Regions from separate parts of the Homo sapiens genome. Here region 2 is linked to region 1. Evidence: promoter capture Hi-C in 16 types of primary human blood cells and fetal thymus (Javierre and others, 2016). All regions are on one chromosome and are shown on one strand. The core of a region is centred on a gene start or on the middle of the fragment in contact, and the rest is flanking DNA. Distances in the headings are between cores, read along the strand shown.

Region 1 (3,793 bases), core at 895-3,394:
AGGGTCTGAGTGGTTGTCTATTGGCCAGGGGTCTCCCCACAGCCTCTGGGGGGAGCACCAAGTGTGCAGATCCAGGAGCCCTACCTTCCTCTGGAACACTCTCTGCACCCAGTCTTCTTCTTCCCTGAAGGCACCACCCTGGACTATTTGCCTGTGGTGGTATTGTGCAAGTGTCATGCCTTGCCAATGACACCAGATGGTAGGCTCCCTGAGGATAGGCTGGTATGGTGTATCATTCGTATCTTACATTCGTATCTTTTGCTCCCTCTGTTACCTGCCTGACAGGAGTTTCTGTGGAAAAAGCCTACCCACTTCTTACTGTGGTGGTGGCTCACTTCGTGTTCAGGTCTTGAATAGAGAAATCACCGGCCAGCTACCTGGAGGCAGGAGGTGCCAGCCCCAACCACTGCACCTTTCTGAGAAGCCAGGCAGTGTTCCCAGAGCCACAGCAGGGCCAAAAAGCAAGAGCAGAGAAAGGAGGTGGCCTGCGATGAGAGGCAGGCAGAGCTGGCTGGGCCCCTCGGAGGCTCCTGGGCTGCATGCCATCCTCCTGTTCTGGAGGGTTTGGAACCACTTAGGGCCCTGTGCCCTTGCCCCAGGAAACTCACTGCCCTGCCTTCTCCTTCTTTCTGCTCCCACCTCCCTGTGACTCCAGCCATGGTCCTGGCGTTAGTCCACCTGGTCTTGGCCTTCCCCTTGTGTGGTGCCAGGCAGGCAGCAATGACAGCCAGATCATAGGACTGTGGCAGCTGGAGGTGGGAGCTGGCAGCCCCAGGAGACATTGACACAGAGGACAGGCAGCCTGGGATGGGGCTGCTGGGGCGTGGTTGGGGACCAGGCTAGGGGCGGACATGGGCACTAGTGCCAAGTATTGGCAGGTGAGGGCAAAAGGACTCCCCTTTCCTGAGCTGCAGGGAGGGGTCGGGTCAGGTGCTGTGCTTCCTCCTTTGGTGCCTAGCGGCAGGGAGACTAAAGTGAAGCATGTCCGTGCCTGGGACAGAAAGGAAGGCTGGAGCCAGGATGTAAGAGAACCAAGTCTCTGGGGGTGGGATGGAGGCTATGGGGAGGGCATCCTGTGCAGGGGAGGAGACCAGCCAGGACCTTGGGGTTAGGGAGGAGAAGACCAGCCCAGCCCGGCTGGGCCCGGCCCTGCCTGGGGGAGGCTGCCTCTGCTCACACATGCAGGCCGAAAGGAGCAACAGCTGGGCTCCATGCCGCCACCCCCTCCGCGCACTCCTGCCTATGCAACAAGTGTCACGTCTGCATGTTGGCACATCATCCCCGGTTTCCCGCGCCCCTGGACTGGCGGGAGGCTCCCAGCCTTCAGGGACCAGAAGACGTTCAACATGGGAGCCCAGCCCACTCGACTCTGGTCAGTTCCTTCCATCGATCCACGAGGGAGCGGGCATGTCCCCCGCCTCCACCTCTACCACGCGGGGTGCAGGGCGTGGGACACGCGGCGCACACCTGTGGTCCTGAGCTCCTGGGACTGCGAGCGACGGTTAGGAGGGACAAGGTGACGGGCAGGTGATGCCAAAGGCCGAGTTGAGCCCCGCAAAAGAAGCAGTCCTTGTGGCCAGCCGCCCCATGGCTCGGGGCGCTCTGTCAATCTGCTGCCTGGCGCTGGCCGGCGCGTGGCTGCTACTGCACGGCTCGCGCCGGGCTCCCCGGGAGGCGGGGAGAGTGCGAATAGGGCGGAGGGAAAGGAGCACGCCGGCTGCAGCCCGGGCGAGCGGGAGGGCGCGCACTCACCTCCACACACCGCGGTCAAGGAGAGCCAGAGCAGCAGGAGCGCCTGCACGCAGAGCCGCAGATTCATGCTGCTCCTTGGGCCGCCGCGGCCCCGGCGAGCCGGCGCGGGGGAGGAGAGGTCGGGCGCCCGGAGGCCAAGAAAGGCGCGAGCCGCGGCTGGCGCGTGCGGGCGCAGAGCTCGGGAGGCTCCCCGGCCGCTGAGTGTGCGCGCTGAGCCCCGCCGCTCCCGCTGGCCGCCTCCGCTCTTCTGCAGCCTCCTCTCCCGCCGCGGGGCAGCGCCGCGAAGCTGGCCTCGGCGGCTCCGGGAGCGGCAGCGGCGAGCTCTTTCTTAGCGGCTGGCTGCTCGGCCGCGGCTGCAACTGCCCGTGACCCCGGCTGCCAGAGAGAATGCTCCCCGCTCACTCCAGGGGCTGCATTTTGTAGCTTGTGGCTTGGCCGCGAGCCCACTTGGTCATGTGGTCATCGGGAGGGCTAGAGGGGGGGCAGGAAGAGGGAGAGGGAGCGAGCCTCCCGCACCGCCCCCCTCCAGGCACGCACTCTGCAGCCCCAGCCCGAGCGTGAGCGCGAGAGGGAACCCCGAGGTGGCCCCACAACAAAGGCTGCGCGGCCTCTCTGACAACCTACAACCGCTCCCCGGACAATGCCCGCCTGGCCGGGGGCCAGAGGGTTTGCAGAGACCTGAAGGATTTCAAACACAGGAAGCATTTGGGGCGGTGGAGGGGCACACTTAACCCTTTCTCACCTTGCTTCCTTAACAGCTGTCAGGAAACCTGGGCGCTTAGGGAAGGACTCAGTCTGGGTTGCCTTCACTCACGCCCTCTACCTCTGACCCTGGTCCTTGCCCTTGCCGCTGGCCAGCTTCAAGGGTTTGGTCAAGACAACCAAACACTGGCCCTCCTCTCTCCTCTGCATTTTCAACTGGCTTTGAATTGGGGGTGACTGCCTAGGCTTGTGCCCAAGGCTTGATTAATTGCCCAGGCCCCTCATGTTCCCTGCATCCCCCAGGAGGCACCCTCTACCTGGAATGCCCCCACCCCACCCTTCCGTGAGCAATTCATTCTTTGCAGCAGCACCTCAAATCCCATCGCATCCAGAAGCCTTCTCAGGATAACACTAATCCAGCAGGGGCCGCCCATCAGCTCCTCCCCACTGTTGGGACATGGGACAGCTCCTATGGTCTACCCTTTCTTGTTCCCTGGAGCTGTCCTCATTCTAGTTCCCCATCAACGTAAGAGGCAGGTGGTTTACCCAACTCCACACAGTCAAGGCTGGATTCATTTTGCGTGTACTTGCGATTCCGCTTTAGAAGCGGGTCCTGAAGTTGTTTGCCTTTCCAGACTCGATTGTTAGCTGCTTCTATAGCTTGGGAGCTCCCAAGGCATGGGGCTGCTTCCCTCATTGGACTGGGAACCCCCTAAGGTAGGATACTGTCTTCTCACTCTTCTGGATCTCTCCAAAGTCCCCAATATCTTGCTCTGCACATAGGTGGCACTCAACACATATTAAAAGACTGAATCGAAAGGTGTCTCCACCTTTCAGCAAGCCAGGCAGTTTGCTTGAAGTGTTAAGTCCAGATTTACACAAAAGATACATTGGACAGGGTGCGTGTGTGCCATAAAAGACATGAGAGACCATGGCATATTTAAAATATCTTTGAAATGTTGCAAAAATCCTATATATACACAATGTATTTATTATCAGTCTCTCTCCACCAGAAGGGTTACCTCCACAAGGGAGGGATCTTTGCTTTGTTCACAGCTGTGTCCCCAGACCTAGAACAGTACCTGCGACATGACTGGTACTCAATACATAATTTTGAATATATAAATGAAATTTTCAAAAACATCTTTACTGCCTAAATTCAGGTAGCAGGAAGGGAATAAGATAAGGTTCTCATTAATAGCCTATGGCCCATTAACCACACTCAAGTAAAAAAAAAAAGCATGTGAAGCATGGCACCCCTCTTCATCCTTGAGACCCAGGATATGAGTAGCAGACATGGGTAGCAGGAGACCATTCTCCCTTCACTGTTCCCCTGGAA
Region 2 (3,793 bases), core at 578-3,077, 560 kb after region 1:
ACCACTGCACTTGGCCTAACATGAGTATGTTTTAAAAATACAATAAAAATTTCCTCTATGAGCTGTTGGTCCAACATTATCCACATAATTCATTTTCAACATATACATTAACTTATTCAACAAATATTTACCAAGTGCCTACTATGTGCCAGGTACTATGTGCCTGGCAAACATCTGTCAACATGAGCAAAATAATTAACAAAGGAAGATGGAGTCAAAAGATAACAAAATAATGTAAAAAAACAGATGTTTAGTTGATTCTGAGCTAAATGTGTGTGGTGTAACCAATGGTAATTATCAATGCCTTTAGAAATATTCATCAATTTTTTTTCTGTACAGTAAACAACTTATATACTTTAATTCTAAAAACATTAACAATTATGAAGGCTATATATTGATTTCAAGTATTATGGTATTTTCATAAACTTACTTCTATTCAGATATGGTTGGAGAACCTTATTTTTGTTATTTTACAAACGCAAATACATGAAGGTTTCATCTTAATGCTTGGCACTACAGAGTTTAGTCAGAGATGATAGGCTATCCCTCCAACTTTGGTCCAAGGACATAATAAACAGAACTCTATCATTTCCAAAGCAGGCACTCCAACATCAAGTTTTAAAAAGTTACTGCAATATTTCAATTGAAAGAAAAAAAAAAGATCAATGATTACCTGAGAGTTCCTGAATGCTTCTTGAAAATACAAAACCGTTTACCTGGATGGTTGCTATGAGAGCTGGAGAAACACGAGACAAACAAGATTTTATTAATTTTATTATACAACACCATATTAATTTTCTGACCACATTTCAAGCCAATGCTTAATTTCTTAGTTTTGAATAAAAGATCATGATCTAAATAATAAAATTCTGTTGGTTAAAGCTATAATCTGAATTTCTGTGTCACCCCAAAATTCATGTTAAAATCTTAACCCCCAAAGTGATGGCATTAAGAGGTGGGGCCTTTGGGAGGTGATTAGGTCATGAGGGCAGAGCCCTTATGAGATTAGTGCACTTATAAAAGAGATCCTAGAGAGCCAGTGTGCCCCTTCCACCATGTGAGGACGCAGTGAGAAGGTGCTGTCTATGAGGAATGGGCCCTCACCCAGACACCGAATCTGCCGGCACCTTGATCGTGGACTTTCCAGCCTCCAGAACTGTGAGAAATAAATTTCTGTTGTTTATAAGCTACCCAGTCTATGGTATTTTGTTATAGCAGCCTGAATGGACGAAGACAGTCATCTCTGTTTAATTCAAGAATTTTAACTTACATTCCACTTTACCTTTATATTTTCTAATGACATATTTCCCTGAGAATTTTCTTAGATGATCAGTACCTCACCATTACTAAAAACAATGCTTGAGTTAAAAATGCAGTGTCAAATTAAAGTTTTTTAACTATTAAGAGAACAATTTAAAGGATATTTGATAATGTATTTTGCTATGATAGAAATTGTTATAATAATTATTATTTTTTGTTTCAGACAGTCTTGCTCTGTCACCCAGGCTGGAAAATAATAATTACTTATTACATTTTAATCTTAATATGTTTGGGGAGGGGGATAATCTGAATGATCCTGGAAGTAAACACTACTTGAGATAAAGGCCATTGCTTAATTCAATAAACATGAAACATTTAAAGAGTCCTTTGCAATTACCAGGAGAACTTTCAAAGAGAGCAAATTAAGGAGCAGAGCTCATGAATTAAAACAATGCTTCTCCTACACACAGATCAGAAAACCACTAATCAAGCTTCACAGCCAATGGTAATAGCTTTTATGCCTCCCTTTAAAATGATAAGGAAAGCCTTCCTGTGTTAGACAACCAGGCAAGATTAGCCAGGATTAGCCTAGCACAGTATTACTCAAAGTGTGGTCCATGGACCAGCATCATCAGCATCACCTAGAAGCTTGTTAGAAACACAAAGTTTCAGGCCTTACTGCAAACATAGTGAACTAATCTCTGGCAGTGGGGCCCAGAAATCTGTTTTCCCAAGTTTTCCAGCTGATTCTTATGCAAGCTAGTTTGAGAAGCACTAGCCCTATCTTGCACTGACAGACCCAACACAGCAGGTCAACAGTTACCCTCAGACACAAGGTAACCATCACCAGCTTACTATATATGCATGGGAAAATAAAGATTCTGGCTAGCTGTAATTCCAAGAAAACATCCTCAGAATAGGCACCATGGTGAATACAACGAAAGAGCTTCTTTCTCAAAGAGGTAATAGAGACACATGTGAGGCAGAAGAGCAGAATGTTACGGAACTCAAAGAAAGGAATGATTCTTGTGACTGGCTGTGCTGATCAGATACTTCACAGAGGGTGAAACGAGAGGAAGGAGAGGGGCATTTCAGAGAATAATCAAGAATAAGAAAAACTACTTTAGATACTGAATATGAAGAGCCTATACATTGGGGAAGATAGATCAATTTTGAGGGCCTGTCTTCTCATAAGAGTTGGCATAGCCTGGGAATAAAGGTACTCAACCTCTGAGAAAATGAAGCCTCTGAACATACAGAACTCAAACCTATGACAAAAGTCCACACCGAGTAGGAGTGAGGGTGCACCATTCAGAGGAAGGTACCTGAAGCAATGAGGGAAACAGTGTACCCTTGAAGTAGGGGAAAAGCAAAGGGACCTACGAGGCCCTCAGAAGAGTAGAAGTGGAAGCTTTCAGTTCTAGATGAGGTTAATGATGAGTAAGAGCTCAATGTGTGTGATGACAGTGCAGGGGCTCACCAGAAATTAGGAAAATGTTATGAAGGTAACTTTAGGTCAATTGGGAATGTCTGGGGATAGAATGGGGCTGAAGGTTCTACAAGACAGTTGGTGAGCCTATGGAAAATGGGAGAGGGGAGGACGGAATGACACATGGGTTTAAGTAATGCCAAAAATATTTTCCAATTTAATCCTCTATAAATTAGTGGCAGAATTAAAGCCTCACTAGGGCAGCCAAGTGTTTAGCACAGAATAAGAGAACAATATTAATCACAGCAGTGTACTGGGGGAAGGGTTGGCTAGGGTCTGCTTTAGAGAAACTGGGGTATAGGTGCAGAACCACTGTAGTAGTGGAAGAGGCAGACTGGTAAACTGCAAAAGGTGGACTCTCCGGAAGCTAGGATGTATAGTGGCAGATCAAGAGAACTCCATGGGCTTCAGAAACTTGGGATAGTAAATTATTTCTAGCTGGTGCTTCATGTTTATGCAAATGATGCCCTGAAACAGACTGAGCTTAAAGGGTATTGAAGTAAAAGTGGTTTGAATCCTAGTTAGAAACAAACAGTTGGGTCTCAGGGAAACTCGGCTTTGAAATCTAGAGGATTTACAGTTGAAAGGTAAAAGATAAAACTTTAAGAATGGTTAAGGTACCAAGAAAGGGATTATAAGGGGACAAGAACAGTTGAAGGGAGAAAAGATAATTACATAGAGGAGTAGCAGCCAAAAGGAAAGAAGAAAAATGGTGGTAACAGTTTAACAGACAGAAGTTGAGAAGAGTTCCAAAAGTAAGTGATCAAAAATGTCAAATACTCTGAAGAAGTCATAGAGGAGTAAGAATGAAAAATAATGAGTACATCCAGTAGTTAGGATATGACTGATAACCTTTAAAGGAGAAGCTTTAGCTGTATGTAGGTGGCGTTGGGGGGTGGGGGGGTGACACTCAAATCACAAAGAGTCAAAAAATGACAAACAGGCTAGTAAAGAATACTCTTTATAAATGTTGATGGTAAATGGAGGAACAAGAAAGCATGCAAAGTAAAGGCAGATCTTCCTCATCCTAAAAACAAGCCTGAA

What was found. Contacts are between HindIII fragments. The CHiCAGO score rates a contact against its expected background, and 5 or more counts as called.
Region 2: a contact is called between a fragment that was not itself captured here and the fragment with the promoter of APLN in region 1, in 4 of 17 cell types (activated CD4 T cells, total B cells, non-activated CD4 T cells and 1 more). The highest score is 8.2, in activated CD4 T cells.

Annotation. Positions count from the first base shown.
Region 1 is chrX:129,652,812-129,656,604 of GRCh38, forward strand. APLN (apelin) reads right to left here and starts at 2,145. Exons shown (of 3, transcript NM_017413.5): 1 at 1,753-2,145. The coding sequence starts at 1,819. RefSeq lists enhancers at 1,417-1,476, 3,169-3,258, 3,269-3,328 and silencers at 1,767-1,816, 1,907-1,986. The HindIII fragment of the contact is 20,761 bases long and covers 1-3,793 here.
Region 2 is chrX:130,208,980-130,212,772 of GRCh38, forward strand. It overlaps ZNF280C (zinc finger protein 280C), which reads right to left. Exons shown (of 19, transcript NM_017666.5): 16 at 674-736. Among named protein-coding and RNA genes, the nearest start is that of RAB33A, 39 kb to the left of the region's middle. The HindIII fragment of the contact is 157 bases long and covers 1,750-1,906 here.